2 separate regions of the Homo sapiens genome follow, and region 1 is linked to region 2. The links are contacts of gene promoters, found by promoter capture Hi-C in blood cells and fetal thymus (Javierre and others, 2016). All regions are on one chromosome and are shown on one strand. Each heading gives the region's core, a stretch centred on a gene start or on the middle of the fragment in contact. The rest is flanking DNA. Distances are from core to core; before and after follow the strand shown.

Region 1 (3,479 bases), core at 499-2,998, 61 kb after region 2:
AATTAAATATGAATCAGGATTGAACTAACTTGGGTTTGACCTAAAATAAACAATAAATATAATGGGAGAGTGTGCAAGTAGATTCAATCATAACCTTATTTTACACATAAAATATTAACATAGAATCTTCTAAAACAAACAAATAAATAAATAAATAAATAAATAGAAGACTTCTCCTAAGTGATGCTCAAACACATTAGGCGCAATCCAGGTGGCCTCTGCAGCTGTGTCTCTCTTTCCTCTTCTGTTCCTGTAAGGGCAGGGCCTCCTTCAGGAACAGCCACCAATAAGCTTCCTCCTTCCTTCTGGTCAGTTGGATTTGCCACTGTAATGAGAAAATGGGTGCCCTGAGTAGGTGCTCAGGAAAGCTGACTGCACAACAGTCTTCTCCTGTCCTGTTTCCCCAGGCTCTAGAGTTTTCTGAATGCAGTTTCCCCAGCCTGGCACCCAAGTGGGTACTGCCTGTGACAGCTGTGCTGTGTGGCAAGGACCTCTAGGCTTGGGATGCTCTTTTAGGAATGGGGGTGACGTGGGGTGGAGGAGTGGCAGTCTACACTGTTTTACTGGCTAAAACAGCCAGAGCCTATTGCTCTTTGTCATACTGGGCCTCACTTGAGCCTCAAAGCAACCTCATGATGTAGCTACCATTATTTTCCCTGTTTTGCTGAGTCTCAGATAAACTAAATAATATTGTCTCTGAGTGACATGGCTAATAGGTGGTGGCAACCAGTTATATACCCAGTGCAATATTATTGTGAAATCTCTGCACTTCAACCCTAAACTTTTACAAAAAACCAGGGGGTCTGCTTTTCAGGTCTGAAAGTCAGTAGGAACTAGGGGAAATGAAGCTTGTGTTTTTTAACAGGTGGAAAACACTTCAGCACAACTGGCAAACTCCAATGAGACCTTACATGAAAGCAGTTTTACCTACATTCACTGGCAGGAGGGAAGAACCTGGGTGGTGACCCTGGGCACTGGGAATATCCTCTGGCACCAGAACAGATTAATAACCTTAATGGCAACTTTGTGAAAATAATAATTTTTTCAGTCCTGCAGCTAACCCTGGGTTTTCCTGATTTACTTTTTAGGGGGCAGACGCCAGTATTTCTGACCAACAGCTCCAGTCGCCTGTGTACATGGAAATTATAACTTACTTTTTCAGCATCTTTTCGATGATTTTCTTAACCATGGGCGATGCGGGGTTGAGACAAGCTTTCTGCCCATTCTTGAGTGTGGCTCTGCAGAGAGAAGGGAATCTCGTGAGACAGGAGGTCGGGCTGAGGACAGGGTTTGGGGCAGCGGGAGAGTCGGGGACCCCAGCAGTGGCAGCGGCAGCGATGGGCGAGACTTACATGACTTCGGTTTGGGCGCAGTGGGGTCCGGGGGACTTCACCTTCACACTTTGGATGTTCTTGAGGTGAATTCCCTGCAGGGTCTGCAAGCACTGGCAGCGCAGTTCAGTGGCCAGGGGCGCTCCTAGGGAAGAAGAGACTCGCTGATTGAGCGGGGCTGTCGGCGCGGGGCGCCCACCCCAGCCGCGTCCGGCCCGGGGACCCCAGGGCGCCGGGACCCACCTGCTGCGCGCCGGCTGGCGGCCACCAGGAGCAGGAGCAGCAGCGCCACCCGCAGGAGCCGGGGATTGCTGGGGGCGGCGGAGAGCGTGGCGCGGGCCATGGGGCTCAGCAGGCGGTTCGAGCGGCTGTGCGAGGAGGAGAGCTGGCAAGGAGCTGCCTGTGGCCCGGGCTCTGTGGCTCTCCGAGAACGGCGAACCCCTTTTATGCATGGTTGGGGCTGGAAAGCCCGGAGTCCCGGGCCAGGGAAATTCCCGGAGCTCCAGATCGATCCCGAGTTCGGAAGGAAGGCGATGGCCCCGCCTCTGGGGTGGAGGGGGGTCGGGGCACTCACGAGTGACGTCCGGGTCTGACTGTCTTGCGTAACTCCCGCCAACTGTGGGATGTTCTCTTTCTGCCCCGAATCCCTGGAGCGGGAGCGAGAGCCCGCCGCTCTCAGAGATACCGAGATAACCGCCTGCGAGGAGGCGCTTCGTGAACCCAGTGCAGTGCGTCGTGGGTCAGATCCCTTAGACCCACGTAGGGACCGCGCTACATCCTTACCGGGGGGAGTTACTTCTCTGGAAGACATTTCAGTTGTTGGGATTGAAAGTTAGGGCAAGAACTGCAGCATGTCTTATCTATCCTCTCTCTTTAGTTTGGGTTCTGCAAATTTCATTAATGTTTGAAATAAACGCACGCTTTAACAGTACATGTGTCATCTCAGATGACGCATAAGAGCTTTTGTCTCCTTCCTGGTGTTTTATGATCTTAAAAGCAAATATCACGTGTGTGTGTGTGTGTGTGTGTGTGTGTGTGTGTGTGTGTGTGTGTTTCAACGTAGTGGAGCCAGGTGTTGGGTGCGGGAACAGACCATTGCCAAGGGTCAATTCAGTGTTTATTTTAGTTAACAGTGTTGCAATCCCCCATCCTTTCTCTCTTTGAAATCTTGGAACATCTCGAACTCTAGTAATTCCAGTAGCATCAATTTTTTGTTGTATGGAAGTCTGTGTTTTGATCCATGGAAGTCACTGGGAGCTGCGAGGGGCCTGTTGGGCTCAGGAGGTCTGCCTTTTCTAGTGCTGTCCCTGGGCAGAAAAGGCCATAGACACCACCAGAAAAGGAGCAGGGAATGAGACTCCGCTTGTTTACTACTCTAAGCACAAGCAGACATGTCTGATATATACATACTAGATTGCTAACATAATTGCATTTCCATGCCATATGTATTTACCAGCATCCTGGGATTGGTTCCCTCTAGAGAAACAGCTATCGAGGAAATTTTAGTTCTAGAGGAATGTCAATAAAGCATTTCCAAGCCTGTTTAGCTGATGCCTTCTCACTGGATTACTGACTTTTCATCATCAATTTCAATGACCCCCTCTCTTTAAAAATTAAGCTGTAGGCCTACAATACTCTGTCTTAATTCTTCCTGGTGGATGCAGACTTCAGGGATATGGAGATATTCTGCCACTGCTATGAGAAGGGCTGGGAGTGGCACGAGGATGAAGAAGTGGGACTACCTTAGGAATAGAGTGTTCCCTGGATGCTGCAGCTGTAGAGATCACTTGATAAGGATGTCAGGGCTGAAGTTTCAGCCATACCACTAACTTGCTTCATGACCCTTGGTAATTTATGCTTTATTTGCTCATGTTTCTCCCCTGTAGAAGAGCTTATAATAGTGCCTGCCTCACGGGGTTGTTAGAAGTATTGATTGTTAATATGTGTAAACCATCAGTGCATGTAAAGTGTTATGTAAATATTTGTTAAATAACAAAATAGAAGTGGTGTTTCACAACCTTACTGATATAGGCTGGATGTTTGTGTCTCTTTCAAATTCAGATGATGAAGCCCTGACTCCCTTATGTGCTAATATTAGAAGACAGGACCATGGGAAGTAATTAGGTTTAGGTGAGGTTATGAAGGTAT
Region 2 (3,593 bases), core at 474-2,973:
TTAATGACACATTTAAAACCCATCATATTCCAATTAAATAATCAGGACTGAGCTATGTTTGATGAAACACACTCACATCTTTAAATAACAGCATGTAAAATATTAAAATACAAGCTTTCAAAAATAAATACATAAATAAGTAGAACCCTCGTAAGAAATAGTCAAACACATTAAGTCCTTTCCAGCTGTCCCTAGAAAGCTGCTGTTCTCTTTTTCATTTTCAGCTCTGGTAAGGGCAGGGACCACCCTGCAGGAAGTGTCAATGATACGCTGATAAGCTTCTTACTTCTCTCCTGTCAGTTGGTGCTCCCCCTGTGATGAGAAAAGGGTTACTGTTGCAGGTGCTAAGGAAGGCTGCTCTTCTGTCACTCTGAAGTTGCTTGGAGGGATGTCCCCATGCAGACTCTCTCCCAGCCCTCCACTCAGGGAAGGTCTGTCTGTACCCACTGCCTTCTATAGCAGAAAACTTGCACTCCTGAATGCTTTTTTTTTTTTTTTCAAGAAAGAAGTGGCTGTGGACTCAACTAGATTCTTGGTTTGAAAAAGCCAAAACATATTGGTCACTGATTGTCACATTGGGTTAGAAATGTCCATTCATGATCTCCCTTAAGCTGCACACAACCCTATGAAATAACTACCATTATCTACCCTATTTTGCTAAAGCTCAAAGAGATTAAATAACGTTGACAGGGATCCTAGCCTTGAACTCACTGAAGGTGTTACTGCAAAGTTTCTGCTCTTCACCAAGAAGGCTTACAGGCCCAAAGTGCCCAAACCAGACATTGCATTTTTCAGGTCTGAAGCCCATTAGGGACTGAGGTAAACGTCCCAAAACAGGCAGGGGGCATTTTGGCATTGTTAGTCAAATTTACTTAGTATTCTAGAAACCCACATTTACCCTCCCAGGGGTTAGGCCTGGAAATGGAAGACACTGAAATACTGAAATATCCTCTGGCACCAGAGCAGATTAATAACCTTAATGGCAACTTTAATTGTGAAAATAATAATCACAATTTCTAGTCCTTCAGCTAACTCTTGGGGTTCCCTGATTTTATTTTTAGGGGGCAGATGCCAGTATTTCTGACCAACGGCTCCAGTCGCCTGTGTATATGGAAATTACAACTCACTTGTTCAGTATCTTTTCGATGATTTTCTGAACCATGGGGGATGCGGGGTTGAGACAAGCTTTCTTCCCATTCTTGAGTGTGGCTCTGCAGAGAGAAGGGAATTCCGTGAGACAGGAGGTCGGGCTGGGGACAGGGTTGGGGCAGCGGGAGAGTCGGGGACCCCAGCGGTGGCAGCGGAAGCGCGGGGCGGGACTTACATGACTTCGGTTTGGGCGCAGTGGGGTCCGGGGGACCTTACATTCACACTTTGGATGTTCTTGAGGTGAATTCCCTGCAGTGTCTGCAAGCACTGGCAGCGCAGTTCAGTGACCACGGACGCTCCTAGGGAAGAATAGACTCGCTGATTGAGCGGGGCTGTCGGCGCGGGGCGCCCACCCCAGCCGCGTCCGGCCCGGGGACCCCAGGGCGCCGGGACCCACCTGCTGCGCGCCGGCTGGCGGCCACCAGGAGCAGGAGCAGCAGCGCCACCCGCAGGAGCCGGGGATTGCTGGGGGCGGCGGAGAGCGTGGCGTGGGCCATGGGGCTCAGCAGACGCGTCGGGAAGCTGTGCGAGAAGCGGGAGAGCTGGCGGGGAGGTGCCTGCGACCCGGGCTGTGTGGCTCCCCAAGATCGGCGAACCCTTTTTATGCATGGTTGAGACTGGAAAGCCCGGAGCGGCCGGGCCAGGGAAATTCCCGGAGCTCCAGATCGATCCGGAGTCCCGAAGGAAGGCGACGGCCCCGCCCCCGGGGTGGAGTCGGATACGGGTAGGGGGAGCCCACTGGTGACGCCTACGCCTCGCCCTCCAGAGTAACCCCCGTGCACTCTGGGACTTTGGGATATTCATTTTCTGCCCCAAATTCCTGGAGAGGCAGTGAGTCCACCTCGCTGAAGATACAGCCTGTGAGGGGGGACCTTAGGTCCCCGATGACCCCCCGCGTACGGGGTAGGGTTGGAGGAAAGAGCTGGGGGGACCCGTGAGAACCAGGACAGGAAAGGCACGACTTCTTTAGAGGAAGAGAGCTTTGTCTCCTTAGTTATCAGATTTGCTGGGGACCCGGAGACAGGCGAGTTTTCCCTCAGCTATCCTCTCTCTATATAGTCTATCCTCTATGTTAACCTCCCGGTCTCTGCCTCTCTCATTTTCGGTTTAGCGTTATTTCATGTACATCTAACATCATGCTCTCTGTGAAAGTACAGCCATCGTCTCGGATTCCAGAGAAGAATGTTCTACTTGTTCCTTGTTTTGCATATTCTCTAATCACACTTAGAATACCTTGTTTACGTTTTCCATTTGGTGGCAACAGATTATCAGTGTCAAAATTTGAATTCAGTGTTAGTGTCCGTGGAAGCCAGGGCTGTATAACATGACCTCTTCTTTTGTATCCTGCATAACGTCCTTCCTCCCTCTGAAATGTTGGAACTTCCTAAATCCCCTGGAGACCTTCTCCCAGTGGGAGGGATTCAGATTTGATCTAGAAATATGACACTGGCTGTCACTCTGAAGCTGTGGAGGGGCTGGGTCCAGCAGGATCATGGGCTCAATGTTTCTGGTTCTGTCTTTGCGAATGACACTAGAGAGTAGGTACCTGGTGTGCAAACACCATTCCCACTGAAGGAGCAAACAGCTGCCTGCTGATGACATTTAAACACCAGATCACACATAAAATCACATTTCATTTACTATAGAATTTTCTGGTATTCAGCACTGGGGGATCTTTCTCTGGAAACATTAACAGGGCACTTTTTTTTCTCGTCTGGATTTTCAGTCTTTTAACCTGACACCTTTGTCCCTTTTTCTAGTTTTAGATAATGTATTTTGATTTGTCATTAGGTTTTAGAGGGTTTAAGTGTGATTCTACAAGTTGGTCTCAGACCTCTTTGAGACGTGGAGTAGGATGGAGGAGAGGAGAAAGGAATGGCATCTGCCTGAAGCACAGGGCTCTACACAACCCAGCTCAAGGGATAAGAGTCCTTGCCCCTAACCAAACACAGAGCGTGCAACTGTGCTGCCTGTATTTAGTTGCAGAGTATCACTTGCAAGTTGTTAAGCCTCTCTGTGCCTAGCCCAAGGTGGTTATGAGAAATGAGTTAACATTTGTAAGAGACAACATGGATTAAGTGCCTTATTAATGGTTGTTAAATAAATAAAATGGACTATTTCCATTTTTAAAAGGCTATTTCTTTCCCGACATTGCCTGAACAAAAACTCAGCCTGCTATGAATTCTGTAAAGGAAAAAAGAAGAATCTAATGGAAAGTTTTACTCCCCAGTGTTTTTCACATTTAAAATTTTCTGTATCCCTTACTGCCACCCAACTCTCCCTGTCTCTAACTGATATAAAGCAGTGTGAGTCCTTAAGAAATCAAAGCACATCCTAGAAAGAAGAATGTTCATATAAACACCACAATCCCAGTTTCCAAAATGGTCTTGTAGTTACTGGTGCTCACGGGTATCTGTGATGTCATTACAATAATCTTGGACAAG

Evidence for each region. The method cuts DNA at HindIII sites, captures the fragments that hold promoters and counts their contacts. A CHiCAGO score of 5 or more calls a contact.
Region 1: a contact is called between the fragment with the promoter of CXCL2 here and the fragment with the promoter of CXCL3 in region 2, in 1 of 17 cell types (megakaryocytes). The highest score is 7.2, in megakaryocytes.

Annotation. Positions count from the first base shown.
Region 1 is chr4:74,097,447-74,100,925 of GRCh38, forward strand. It overlaps CXCL2 (C-X-C motif chemokine ligand 2), which reads right to left and starts at 1,749. Exons shown (of 4, transcript NM_002089.4): 1 at 1,575-1,749; 2 at 1,353-1,476; 3 at 1,155-1,238; 4 at 1-325. The coding sequence starts at 1,674. The coding sequence ends at 310. The HindIII fragment of the contact is 3,135 bases long and covers 1,211-3,479 here.
Region 2 is chr4:74,036,966-74,040,558 of GRCh38, forward strand. CXCL3 (C-X-C motif chemokine ligand 3) reads right to left here and starts at 1,724. Exons shown (of 4, transcript NM_002090.3): 1 at 1,547-1,724; 2 at 1,325-1,448; 3 at 1,128-1,211; 4 at 1-312. The coding sequence starts at 1,646. The coding sequence ends at 297. It overlaps LOC105377275 (a long non-coding RNA gene), which reads left to right and starts at 1,980. Exons shown (of 2, transcript XR_938875.3): 1 at 1,980-3,593. The HindIII fragment of the contact is 4,426 bases long and covers 1,184-3,593 here.